4 separate regions of the Homo sapiens genome follow, and all the other regions are linked to region 2. The links are contacts of gene promoters, found by promoter capture Hi-C in blood cells and fetal thymus (Javierre and others, 2016). All regions are on one chromosome and are shown on one strand. The core of a region is centred on a gene start or on the middle of the fragment in contact, and the rest is flanking DNA. Distances in the headings are between cores, read along the strand shown. Region 1 holds the start of PRB4 (proline rich protein BstNI subfamily 4). Region 2 holds the start of TAS2R13 (taste 2 receptor member 13). Region 3 overlaps LOC107987435 (a long non-coding RNA gene). Region 4 overlaps SMIM10L1 (small integral membrane protein 10 like 1).

Region 1 (3,265 bases), core at 383-2,882, 400 kb before region 2:
CTGTAGCAAAGCCTTTTTTATTAGGAAGTCTGCTTGTACTATTACCTGCAACTCTTCAGAAGGGCCACCCAGATTCTCATCTGCAAAGCCCAGGATCTACTCATCCACAATGTTCAAGAGGCCTGTCTTTAGGATTTACTGTCACATACCCTCTCTACCTCCATCATACCTCCAACCAAGGTGTTCTCAAATTAATACCAGCCATGCACAAAATGTGAACAATTACACAAGACACATGGAAGGTCTAAGTGGTAAATGGCAGCTGTTGATACTGAGTAACCTGTATATTCCATGAACTGATAAGCAGGTATTTATCAGATATAACGAAGAATCAGTAGCTGAAAGAAGTGCTAACAATGCAGGTCTCTGATAGGGCTTTTTGGAAACACAACACGTATTATGAAATTACACAGACAAGAATGAAACAAAGATGGTAAGTACTATATCCTAATACTTAGAAGATTAAATAAAGGAAATCTCACCAAATTCATGGGGAAAAAAGCCAGATACATAAAGAAAAATACACATAATGGGCTTGACTCAGAAAATAAAATATGAACAAAGAAGAACCAGAAAGAAGGTGGGGAGGAATGCATATCAGAATATTATAGAAAAATACTCTTTGTGGAAGAACAATCTGAGAAAACAGGTAACACAAATACTGACTAAACCAAGAATACCAATATAATGCAATTTAGGCTTTAACGAGGGTATCTGATTATCCTATTTGAATGTAGAATTGTAGCCACTTAATTATAAGTGGTAGGAATTCAATACAATTATTAAAAGAAATGAAGCAGAGGGTGAATATTATAGAATATTCTGGACAAAGGGAAGAGCATGAAGGAAGTTTTGGCAACATGATATCGCATGGCTCCCGCAAGGAATTATGTATTCAGTTTTCTCAGATCTAGAAATTTCCTTATGGTTTCTGTGTACATTTTGCATTAATAACCCCTAAAGGTACTTTAAAATACACAATTTTGGCCTTCCTGTGTGGCACAACAACAAGCCTTGCCTGAGCTGAGTCAGATCCACAGAAGCTTGAACAATAGTTGTAGCCCGAGCAGGCTGTGGGGCAGCTTTCTGTCATCTATGTGTGCCCAGGAGTGTGTTGTCTTCACACCATCACACAGGTAACAGAAACCATCTCTATCGCATCAAAACTTTAGCCAATTGTGATACTATCTGTACACACACATCACAAGAGATGGAAATAGGCTCTATAAAGAGCCAGAGAAATTGACCATCTTCACTGCTGGCTGTAGCTTCACTGCCCCCACAAATATTACACAGAAATAAATAGTAGAGTGGAAAGCAGACATAGTCTTACCAAAAGGATTGAAACTCTAATGATGTCTGAAGTTCAATTATGACACAGTGCTGATAGCTTGGACACAGTTCCTTTAGAACCTTTATTCAAGTCATAGTCGTACCTTTTAGAAATAAGGCACAAACAACATCCAACCCACCCCATCCCTCTGGGCTAGAGTCCCAAAGAGAAATAAGGGATACACCTGACCTGCAGTAAGGAAAGCAGAACCCAGTCTCTGAGGTGGTGAGGCCCACCCAGGGCTCAAAGGTGCCATTGTTTTGCTCCTCTTTATAAAGGGAGTTGCCACGTTCCTCCCAGCACAGAGTTGGGAGTGACTCCAGAGCCTCCAGCGAGATGCTGCTGATTCTGCTGTCAGTGGCCCTGCTGGCCCTGAGCTCAGCTGAGAGTTCAAGTGAAGGTAAAACAGAAGGGGGAAAAGATGCGGTGACTGCTTGGGACTTAGGAGGTGACAGTGGTAATTATGGGGAAGAGAGGAGAATGAAAACACAGATGGGGCTGCAGAGTTTTCATGCCTAGGATCAGGAGACCTGTTGTGCCCTCATTCCACAATAAGGACTTCTAATTTATTTAATGTACAATGAAATCCAATAACGAATTTGTTCCAGGGGAATGAGAAGGTAAGATTTGAATTTATAGAGATAGAACTGTGCTGTGAAGGCTGCAGTGGAGAGTGCAAGGCAGATTCAGGGAAGTCCAGCTGTGAAGATCCTATACTGATCCCAGTAAGTACACAGGGATGATGGTGGCCTTGCTGTACAGACAGTCGGCATTGATGATAGAGATACATACACATCAGAGATACTGCAGAGACAGAACTGGATAGAACACTTGTCTCTGTCTAACTAAAGATGTAGAAATATCAGAGCCAATCATTACAATTTTTCTCTCCCCTACATGCAGTATTTCAATGTGCTGGGAGTGGAATGGGTTAGATTGTATTGAAATGATTACTTCTGGTTACCCCTATTGAGAAAACATGTGTATGTATGCAATATATTAACAGGAGATGGAGGGCATAAGAACACCAAAATATCACATTGAAGTACCTGGCATGCATAAACTAAATAAGCATTAAGTCTTGAGGGATGCTAGGGAGGAAAAAAAGGGGCTGTTCTATGTTGAACTCATTGCTGTTGCTCTGTGTGGTAACAACCCTGCCTCCTCTTACACCTTCCACCCCTTCCAGCACCTTCACAGATGGTGGCTGATGAGTTAACCTAGGGGATGCATGGGGTGTGGTGAGAAGACAATTTTCCCTGTAGAACACTTGTGAGTCTTGAAGATTTGAGATGTAACATTTCCCATCATCCTGTGCTTCTCTTCTAGATGTCAGCCAGGAAGAATCTCTCTTCCTAATATCAGGTAAATCCCAATTCATTCTCAATCTGTTTTGACTCCCTTTTTCTGCTTACAAATGGATCATTTCTCCAGTGTCTTCTTATCAACACTTTCCTTTCAGGAATTGATTAATGTTATTGCCCCTAATGATATAGGCAATCTTCATGCAAACTTGATTCTGGGGACCATGAGCAGGCCACCAAATGGAATGTCAGAGATGCTTGGCTTAGATGACAACAGGAGTGGGTTGACATCCCCCTGGCCAGGAGTGCCTCCTGGGAGATGACAGACAAATGGCCAGTGTCCTTATTCTGACTCCTCCTTAGACTGAGAGCCCCTCAACTTCTCCCTTTTCCCCCAGCGTTCCACTCCAGAGTTCTAGGGCTTCACTGAAAATGCAAAGAAATTAGTATCTGGGTCTCATTTTTGTGCATTTCCCCATTTAGCTCCATTACTGTAAAAATTTGTGGCAACTATTCAGTGAATGCCGTATGTCCCCCACCTCCTCCAGGAAAGCCAGAAGGACGACGCCCACAAGGAGGAAACCAGCCCCAACGTCCCCCACCTCCTCCAGGAAAGCCACAAGGACCA
Region 2 (3,481 bases), core at 592-3,091:
AAATTTATATTTTTAAATGTTTTCTCTTATGGAAACACACCAGGAAAATGCAGCTCAGAACCGCAAGCCTGTTATCCATTCTCTATGTCTTTGTCATGTGTTATATCACAAGTTCTAAAAACTGTGGTATTTTTTCATATACCAGCAAGTACAGTACCATTCCTCAGGCCTATTTGTACAGATTTGGGGTATTATCAAGTTGTGACCGGCATCCCCAAACCCTTTTCTCTAGATAGGTAGGAAGAACACCCTAAAATGAAAAAGTATAAAAGATCTCTTCAGCCCTGGGTCAAGAATGCAAATGGAAGACCACATGCCACATAGCTACATATTTAAAGGTCATAAATATACAAACCTAACAAACTGTTAAAGGAGACATTTTCTATTCTATCTTGACAAATATACCATTATAACAACAAAATAGAAAATATCTACCTATTTTAAGTTATAATTGAAACTTGCAAATCATTAAAGATGATGCAATTATTTTGTAAATTTTTTAGTACTCTGTAGATCACCCAATAAAGATTGCATGAGTAATAAAATACAAACATTCATAATTCACAAATTATATCTTTATTAAATAAAAATAGCTTTGTATTCATCTAGCTAAATGGCTACTTATTATCTTATAATCAAGATAAAGTGTTTTATTTATATTAATTTTGAATTAGACAATCTTTCTTGAGTCTCCACGTTTTCAGAATTTTGGTAATCCACTTTTTTTCGGTAGTTTTTGAAAGAGTGGGGCGGGGTGAGGAACCTTGACTCTTCACAATGAACACATTAGTCCCCGCTTATCTGCAGTTTCAGTGACCCAAGGTCAACCACAGTCCAAAAATAGGTGTGTACAGTACAGTAAGGTATCTTGAGAGAGTGAGAGACACCACACTATATATTTTAACACATTTTTTTACTTTTTATTTTTTTAATTTTTATTTATTTTAGATACAGGGTCTCCCTATGTTGCCCAGGCCGGTCTCAAACTTTTGGGCTCGAGCGGTCCTCCCGCCTCAATCTCCCAAATTGCTAGGATTACAGGGATGAGCCACAACCCCTGGCAACTTTTATTATAGTATATTGTTTTAATTGTTCTATTTTATTATTAGTTATTTTTGTAATCTTTTACTGTGCTTGATTTACAAATTAAACTTTATCATAGGTAGGTGAATACAGGAAAAAAATATATTGTATATAGAGTTTGGTACTATCTGCTGTTTTAGGCATCCACTGGGGGTCTTGGGACATAGGCCTCATGGATAAGGGGAACTAGTGTATCTATTTCTTTGCTTGGTTTTCAGTTTTGCAAGTTATGATGTAATATAGTACTGCTTTCTTTGGTAGCTGTTGCTGATTTTGTAAAATTTGTTTTTTTATCACTTTTAAGTTTAAAAAAGAAATATGAGGGGAAAAGCGGATAAAATGTGAAGGCATTTGGTGCCTATGGAGGGATGGTGGTGAGCACTGCTAAGTAGTGATGAGGCAGGGAATGAGAAAGATGGATGCTTTGTAAACGAGTTTCTCTTTAGTCACAGTATTGACCAGATCCAGCTTTAGCTCCACAAGAAATTGAGCACTCTTTTGAAATAGCATAGGTAAGTCTTTGCATATTTTATAAAGCTTCATTGGCTATGCTATTAGCCATAAAAGCTTCATTTAGCTACATATTCTATGAATCAGATTTTTATAATATTTGTACCTCAGAACTCAAGCTGGTTGAATCTAATTTTCTATGCTCAGACAAGGCAAAAAAGTACAAAACAATGAAAGAGAATATATCTTTATTTGCATGGTTGCAAATGTGAGTTTAACTTTGCTGCATAATCATCTATGAAATATTTCTGCCCATGGTGAAGACATAAATATCTTAGCTAGGGCTCAGCAGAGAAATTGAAGAAAAATAAAGATATCACCAGAACAGTTATGTGAAGATCGATCAGCAAACTTTAGAGATTTCTGCTTTGACGTTGAGCCAACAATGAAAGAAGGAGCAGAAAAAGGAGAAGGAAGAAGAACTCCACTGGACACTCAAGGATGTGAATAGCATTTTAGATCAGTGAATAACCAGCAGTGACATTAGACATTGAACTTTCTCTGTTCTGACATGGAAAGTGCCCTGCCGAGTATCTTCACTCTTGTAATAATTGCAGAATTCATAATTGGGAATTTGAGCAATGGATTTATAGTACTGATCAACTGCATTGACTGGGTCAGTAAAAGAGAGCTGTCCTCAGTCGATAAACTCCTCATTATCTTGGCAATCTCCAGAATTGGGCTGATCTGGGAAATATTAGTAAGTTGGTTTTTAGCTCTGCATTATCTAGCCATATTTGTGTCTGGAACAGGATTAAGAATTATGATTTTTAGCTGGATAGTTTCTAATCACTTCAATCTCTGGCTTGCTACAATCTTCAGCATCTTTTATTTGCTCAAAATAGCGAGTTTCTCTAGCCCTGCTTTTCTCTATTTGAAGTGGAGAGTAAACAAAGTGATTCTGATGATACTGCTAGGAACCTTGGTCTTCTTATTTTTAAATCTGATACAAATAAACATGCATATAAAAGACTGGCTGGACCGATATGAAAGAAACACAACTTGGAATTTCAGTATGAGTGACTTTGAAACATTTTCAGTGTCGGTCAAATTCACTATGACTATGTTCAGTCTAACACCATTTACTGTGGCCTTCATCTCTTTTCTCCTGTTAATTTTCTCCCTGCAGAAACATCTCCAGAAAATGCAACTCAATTACAAAGGACACAGAGACCCCAGGACCAAGGTCCATACAAATGCCTTGAAAATTGTGATCTCATTCCTTTTATTCTATGCTAGTTTCTTTCTATGTGTTCTCATATCATGGATTTCTGAGCTGTATCAGAACACAGTGATCTACATGCTTTGTGAGACGATTGGAGTCTTCTCTCCTTCAAGCCACTCCTTTCTTCTGATTCTAGGAAACGCTAAGTTAAGACAGGCCTTTCTTTTGGTGGCAGCTAAGGTATGGGCTAAACGATGAGAAACTCACAATTTCATAAGCCATTCAGACCACAGATTATTGAATATTGCAGACAGAAACAGGAGTCTACAAGGAGTTTAAAAGATATTTTATGCTTCCCCTGGTTTCTTTTATTGTGAAGGTCACTGTAAATGTTTTAAATTCTTCTCTATAATAGCATCTTACCTAAGAATATTATGTATTTATGACATGTATTTCTACATTATTAGGAATTTGAAACTTATTTGAGGAAATTATTGGCAGATTCTATTGTAAATTAAAAACATATACTACAGCATACTTAGATGTTAATTGTAAATCTACAATCTTTTGTTTGGCAATGGCTCTTCAATTCTAAATCATTCATTGAGATGGGTGATTTAGGTAATTATTTTATTATCTCAAGTACTCCTATTTAAATGGTGAGCTACAGATAATTAGAACAGTTATTTGGAATAGAATTAGGGAAGTTTGGACTTGCCACTA
Region 3 (3,444 bases), core at 939-3,438, 290 kb before region 2:
ATTCATACTATTAATGTTCAAATTATCCTGCATTTGGCCAATGGGAGAGCTTCAAGCTGGCTCCTGAGTCTTTTTTTTTTTTTTTTTATAGTATATCCTTATTTTGCATCCCAAAAAAGAATCAAGAATTAGCTTGTGCTTTTACTGCCATAGGCCTGAAATCAGCTATTTTTCCAGGGATCCCTAGATCCTTTGGGATCTATTTAGAGTGCAGAATGCTATTTCGAAAACAGTATCTGGGAGGTAAAGGTGCTCATTATTAACTGTGATATTCTTTCTTTTAGGCAGACAGAGCTAGGAAACACATAAAATATATATATATATATATATATTTTTTTTTTTTCCTTCTCTATTAAAAACTGAATTCATACTGATAACTTCATGATATGGTCTGGCTCATCTTGAGCCAAACCCACCCAAATCTCATCTTGAATTTTAGTTCCCATAATCCTCATAAGTCTTGGGAGGGAACTGATGGGAAGTAATTGACTCATGGGGGCAGTTCCCCCCATGCAAATCTTGTGATAGTGAGTAAGTTCTCATGAGATCTGAAGTTCTCATGAGATCCATGTGAAGAAGGAAGTGTTTGCTTCCCCTCCCACCACGATTGTAAGTTTTCTGAGGTCTCCCAGTCCTGCAGAACTGTGCGTCAATTAAACCTCTCTCCTTTATAGTTTACCCAGTCTTGGGCAGTTCTTTATAGCAGTGTGAGAACAGACTAATATTCTTCAATTCCAATTCAAGACCACATGCTACTCTTGCCCTTTCTACATTTACAGTTCCCTTCAAGAAACTTGGCTTCCATTATGCTTAATATATTTACAGTCATCCCTCAGTGTCCACAGTGGATTGGTTCCATGACCCCTGTGGATACCAAAATCCTCAGATGTTCAATTAGGTTTGGCAGATGTGAGGATGTGATACTGTGAAATATGCATTTGGTCTTCCTCCCCAGTTTCCTAACATACAACTCCTAAAATCCTTGTACTCTCCAAAGTGCTTGCTTTTTTTTATACTTATATTGACTGATAACTTCAGAGTGAGGCTGGTCACCAGAATGACCAAAGACAATATTAGAGGGTTGAGACCTTCAGCCCCATCCCCCAACCTCCAGGGAGGGGAGAAGGGCTGAAGGTCAAGTTGATCACCAATGGCCAATGGTTTAATCAATCATGCCTATGTAACCTCCACAAAAACACAAGAAGACAGGCTTGGAGAGCTGCCAGGAGGGCAGTATGCACAGGGAGGGCGTGGAAGCTTCAGGCTCCTTCCCCCATTAATGCATCTCTTCAACTGTATCCTTAGTAATATCCTTTATAATAAACTGGTGAAGGTTAAAAAAGAAAAACAAACCCACAGAAATGCATGGCTGACTGTATACATTTGTCCCACCTTAGAATATCAAAAAGTAGTTTTAGAATTGCTAATCCATATCACTGGAGGGTAGGGGATAACATTAACTAGAGCTTAATATTTATTTAGTATTTTTTTTTTGTCTTTAGACTTGGGGAGTATAGTCCAAGTACTATGTTGCAAGATAAGTCAGTTACTTTTTTCTTTCAGTTTGGTTATGCTATTCATTTGCAATATTTAAGTTTATTTGTTTTTTTTTTGTTTTAAAATTCTACTTTATTTCATGTTACCATCCTTGTTGATTTTAGGCACTTTTGAGTACATGAAACATTAACATGGTACCCCCAAATCAAAACTATGTAAAATCGTGTACTCTCCCAATCCTCAATCCCTTAAATTCCATTCCCACCCACTTCCTGTAGGTAACCAATCTTATTAATATCTATTTTAGCTCTCCTGTATTTCTTTTTCCTTTCTTTTCCTTTTTTCTTTTTTTGACAGAATCTTACTCTGTTGCCCAGGCTGGAATGTGGTGGTATACTCTTGGCTCACTGCAACCTCTGCTTCCTGGGTTGAAGTGATTCTTCTGCCTCAGACTCCTGAGTAGCTGGGACTACAGGCACACAGCATCACACCTGGCTAATTTTTGTATTTTTAGTAGAGATGGGGTTTTACCATATTGGCCAGGCTGATCTAGATCTCCTGACCTTGTGATCTGCCAGCCTTGGCCTCCCAAAGTGCTGGAATTACAGGAGTGAGCTACCATGCCTGACCAGCTCTCATGTATTTCTTTATGCAAAAATAAGCATATTTATGGATATATTCTTATGTCCCTTCTTTTTTTTTTTTTTTACAAAAATGGTGGCGTATATGCATTTCCCCTTTGCTTTTTCTACTTTACAATGTACCCTAGAGAACGTTCCACATCAGTTCATAGAGATCATCCTCATTCTTTTTTATAGCTGCTTAGTACTTCCTTACGTAGACATACCATAGTTAATTTAACCACTCTCCTATGTATGGGCAATTAGGTTGTTTCCAATATTTTGTGAGTACAAACAATGCTGTAATGAGTAAGTTTGTCCATGCTTATTTCTTTGTTAGTGGTACATGTTTAGAATAAATTCCTAGATGAAGAAATGCTGGATCAAAAATAAACACACATGCAGTTTTGTTAAATATTACTCATTTTCCTTCTGTTAAATAAAATGTATGGTAGGTCATTGTTTTGGGTTGAATTCCTGCACTAGCCCCCAACAGGACAAACCAAAATGGAGTCACTCTTGACAAGAGCCATGTAGTCAAACTGAAACTTTAAAAAACAGGAAAATCTCCCATCAGGCCAAATTTTCCAAAAAAAAAAAATCCCCAAAAAAACAAAAAACAGGAGATTCACAGTAACCAGTTAAAAAGGTCCCAGTAAACCTAGGCTGGCATGATATGAAAGTACCCCTTGTTTTAACCCTTTCAAGGAAAGTAACCCTAAGTTAACCAATCCACTTTGTTGTATTATGCTATTTCCTTGTTTCTGCTCAAACTCCCTTACACATATTAATCGTTCTGCTATGCCCATGGAGCATTTTTCTGTTTTATAGATGGAATGCAGCCCAATTCATAATTGATAATAAAAGCCAATTAAATCTTTGAAATCAGTTTGTTGAAATTTTGTTTTTTAACATCTCTAAAAGCATTATACTGATTTGCAAACACCAGCAATGAATGTTTTTATTTCTTATTTCACTAACAAAATAGGTTGACAAGCTTTTAGAACTTTTTGCCAACGTGACAAATGAGGCACAGTTTTAATTTGCTTTTCTCTTATAAGTGAATTCAAATGTCTTTTTATATGGTTAAGGGCCATCTAGCCTGTTTATAATGACCTAGAAGAATAATATCTTCTTTGTCCTCCACAGAGGAAGATTCTCAGTGCCTATCCATAAAGTTTTGGTTTTTCACATGCCACTTTCATCTCTATTTATTAATTGGCACTTAGCCTACTTAATGGGTTGAGGTAAACATTTGCTGGGGCTTTTTGGAAACAGAAGCATGAGACTTTGGCAAAGATCCTGAAATCATTCATTCTGAAAAACC
Region 4 (3,379 bases), core at 91-2,590, 270 kb before region 2:
TCATTGATGCATGCCACTATTTTACAGTGGCTAAGTCCATATGCTTGGTGTTGAAAGCCATGGAGATGGTGAAGATTTTGTAATGTTCATTGCAGATCCCTAATCAGGATAGAAACTGGCAGGGATGTCCTGCAATTAAGCTACTAAGACTTCCATAGTTTCTTCATTTGTAGTAGGCTTTTGGGAAGGTCCTTGGGCCTTTTAGTTGTCCCAAGAGCACTGCTGAAATTTGTATTTGTGGAGAGTAGGGGTAAGGGGAGGTTTACTTATATTTTGAAAAGATCTCATGACTTGACCTGGTGGTAATCCTGCTGAGCAAATCCTATTAAGTCTAGTTTGTTCAGGCTGCTATAAAAAATACCATAAAATGGGTGCTTATGAACAACAGAAATTTATTTCTTATAGTTCTAGAAGCTGGGAAGTCCAAGATCCAGGCATTCACAAATTTGGTATCTGGTGAGGGTTCATTTCCTTGTTCATAGATGACTTTTCCCTATAACCTTACATGGCAAAAGGGGTAAGGGAATTATTTTGGGGTCTCCTTTATAAAGGCACTAATCCCATTCACGAGGGTTTCATCTTTATGACCTGATCACCTCCCAAAGGTCCCATCTCCTGAGATCATCACTTTGGGGGTTAAATGCCAACATGTGAATTTTTGGGGGGCACATTCAGACCATAGTACAAGTGTTAAAACTGCAAGAAGAATCCCCACACTCAAGGTAACCCAAGTAATAGACTAATATGAATCAATCCAACCCAATTGTTGGGAATTCTCATAGTTCTTGCAGAGGTTCTTTTCTTGGTTCATTTTCTTGGAACTTCCCAAGTCGTCTTTAGACTACTTTCCATGCTCAAACTTCCAAGTATTAGGATATTCCTTTCCCTCATCTTTTGTCCCTATATTCCTCAACTTTCATCCTACCCCTTTATGCTTCTGCATGTAACTTTATTTTCTTCTTGACGCTATCAAAAGCTATTGATGTCCTGCCAGAAAGATCTCCCATTAAAAGCAAACTGCAAGATTTTCTAACAAAATTTAGTTAGGGATCCTCAGGACAGGAACAGACATGGCTTCAAAATTTAACATTGTCTGATCTCTACTCTGGGTAGCACAGGAAAGTGTTTCCCTTCCATTCTGAGGACAACGTTCTTTCCTCTCTCTCCCTTTGCTCCCATATCCCTCAATCCCACCAACCCTCTAATAAAATAAGCCAATAGGTTTAAGGCTGCAGAGAGTATAAAATACTTGAACTTACATATCAAATCATGTTAAATATTTATATTTTAGTATGAAAGACCCTCAATAGTTATGTTAAAAAAAATAACTATTACCCAGGTAATATTTCTGTCCAGAAATTTGAGAAACAGAATTATTTGTAATTATCTACACATTTAAGAAAATTGAACTCCTTATGAAATATAACTTTAGGAATTACTGGAGATTCATTTGAGGTCTGGTTGGTTATCATGACCTTAGGAATTTACTTAACCTCTCTAAATCCCGGTTTGCTTCTCTGAAAAATGATAAAAATGTTTTCCTCACAGGGTATATGTGAGAATTACGGAGCTCATGTATATAAATAGTTTTTCATAGTTCCTGGTATTAAAAACTCAATATATTTTAAAAATGATGCTGATGGTAATGATATGCTATTTGTCAAGTAATCACATGTATTTTTACCCAGAATTAAAAAAAAAAAAACAACTTTTCCCCTATCCCTTAGGTTACATATGTTGCTATGTTCACTGTTTTCCTTTTATAGTTAAAATAAGCTGTAACGCATCGTTTCCCATTTTTTTTTTTGCCAGCTACATTTCTTATCTCTATTGATAATAACTATACCACCTATGTCTCTGCTTTTTCATGCTTGAGGGATCTCTGGATCAATCAACGTGCATGATGGCCTGAAAAAGCCCAATTTATGGGCAATAAAGTGAATCATCTTATTATCAGGAACGAATATATGTTTCCTTTATTGACTGCTGACTATGTAGAGCATACCAACAAAATTGCCATTCATCTATCCATTCAACAATATTTATTAGCTATTCCGCACTGGGCAGTGCTCTAGGCTTGGGGATAGAACAGTGAACAAACAAAATCCTTAGCCTAATGGATATTACCTGGAAGTGTGCCAGGAAGAATAAACTCACTTGTGAATTACAACAATAAGTGGTTTATTCAGGTCAAAATCTTGTTTTGTCTCCTGGGAATTTCACTGAATTGCATCATGTAGGAGGCAAACTATACCCCAAGAATTAAGAGCAATTGTGAATAAATGATAAACCACAGAGTTTACATTTACCTCCTAATACATTTAACTCCTAATATATATATATACATATATTACGAGGTAAATGTAAGCTGTAACTTTATGCATATATTGTAAGTAGTAACTATACATATATACTTATATACTGTATACATATATAGTAAGTAGTAACTATACATATATACATATATAGTTACTACTTAAATTTATATATGTGTATGTATATATATATGTATATATACAGTACACACACATACTGTTACTACCGGGTGTAAAATTGAATAGGATATAGTGTCTTCCCTCACAGAGCTGCCAATTATGTTGGAGGATGTAATAAATACAAAGTCTGTTTCTTCATCTTCGGTTTAACAAATGACTGATGTGAGGAAAAAAGTTATAGGAATATGTTCACATAGTCACCCAAATGGAGCATCCTACTCTGTCACCATTTCAGGATTAAGACTAGACAGTCTTTTGTGTTACAAATTGGGACATCAGTGCTCTGGGAAACAGTGATGTCCACGATTCTAAATCCCTTGGTATTACTATTTCATTGATTAAACTACACTTCTGATATTTTAGACTAAAATGTTTTGGCTTATCGCAGTCTAGGAAACCTGTCTTGGGTATATAAAACAGACAGTTGATGCACGATTAGGGAAAAATAAGGCAACCTATGAAAATGGCCTTATGGATTAAAAGAAGTGAGCTCCTATATGGTCAGTGGAATCCAGGAAAAATTTAATGGAAAAAGCGCCACCTAAGCTTAGCTTTAAAACACAGAGTATCTTCAGGTAGAAAAGGCTATAGGAGAATGTGCCCAAATGGAGTTTGGCTGGAGACAAAGAATAAAGACTAGAAAGAACAATTACCCTAGGCCAGACATGGTGTTGGACGGGGCAAGATGCTTACTACTTAAAGCCATAGAACACTGTTTGCTGGACACAATGAGTGGAATATAGAACAATGCAACTATTTTAACACTTTACCCCTCTTAGTGGTTTATTAGTTAATTTTTTCCTGAAAAAAAAAATGCGTATACTACTTTTTCTGCACTTTTCTATATCAGATCTTGATTTAAAACTTTACCACTCTTGGTGATT

Evidence for each region. Contacts are between HindIII fragments. The CHiCAGO score rates a contact against its expected background, and 5 or more counts as called.
Region 1: a contact is called between the fragment with the promoter of PRB4 here and the fragment with the promoter of TAS2R13 in region 2, in 16 of 17 cell types (naive CD8 T cells, total B cells, activated CD4 T cells and 13 more). The highest score is 18.3, in naive CD8 T cells.
Region 3: a contact is called between a fragment that was not itself captured here and the fragment with the promoter of TAS2R13 in region 2, in 1 of 17 cell types (endothelial precursors). The highest score is 5.4, in endothelial precursors.
Region 4: a fragment that was not itself captured here is called in contact with the fragment with the promoter of TAS2R13 in region 2 in 1 of 17 cell types (M1 macrophages); the score reaches 5.2 in M1 macrophages.

What each region holds. Positions count from the first base shown.
Region 1 is chr12:11,308,803-11,312,067 of GRCh38, reverse strand. PRB4 (proline rich protein BstNI subfamily 4) reads left to right here and starts at 1,632. Exons shown (of 4, transcript NM_002723.6): 1 at 1,632-1,733; 2 at 2,663-2,698; 3 at 3,186-3,265. The coding sequence starts at 1,670. The HindIII fragment of the contact is 5,809 bases long and covers 1,046-3,265 here.
Region 2 is chr12:10,907,922-10,911,402 of GRCh38, reverse strand. TAS2R13 (taste 2 receptor member 13) reads left to right here and starts at 1,841. Exons shown (of 1, transcript NM_023920.2): 1 at 1,841-3,477. The coding sequence starts at 2,105. The coding sequence ends at 3,016. The region is part of intron 4 of PRH1-PRR4 (PRH1-PRR4 readthrough); the gene reads left to right. It also overlaps a transcript of PRH1 not described here. The HindIII fragment of the contact is 14,745 bases long and covers 1,653-3,481 here.
Region 3 is chr12:11,203,279-11,206,722 of GRCh38, reverse strand. The region is part of intron 1 of LOC107987435 (a long non-coding RNA gene); the gene reads right to left. Among named protein-coding and RNA genes, the nearest start is that of TAS2R42, 18 kb to the right of the region's middle. The HindIII fragment of the contact is 1,857 bases long and covers 1,260-3,116 here.
Region 4 is chr12:11,173,010-11,176,388 of GRCh38, reverse strand. It overlaps SMIM10L1 (small integral membrane protein 10 like 1), which reads right to left. Exons shown (of 1, transcript NM_001271592.2): 1 at 373-3,379. Among named protein-coding and RNA genes, the nearest start is that of PRH1-PRR4, 3.1 kb to the right of the region's middle. The HindIII fragment of the contact is 3,407 bases long and covers 1-3,043 here.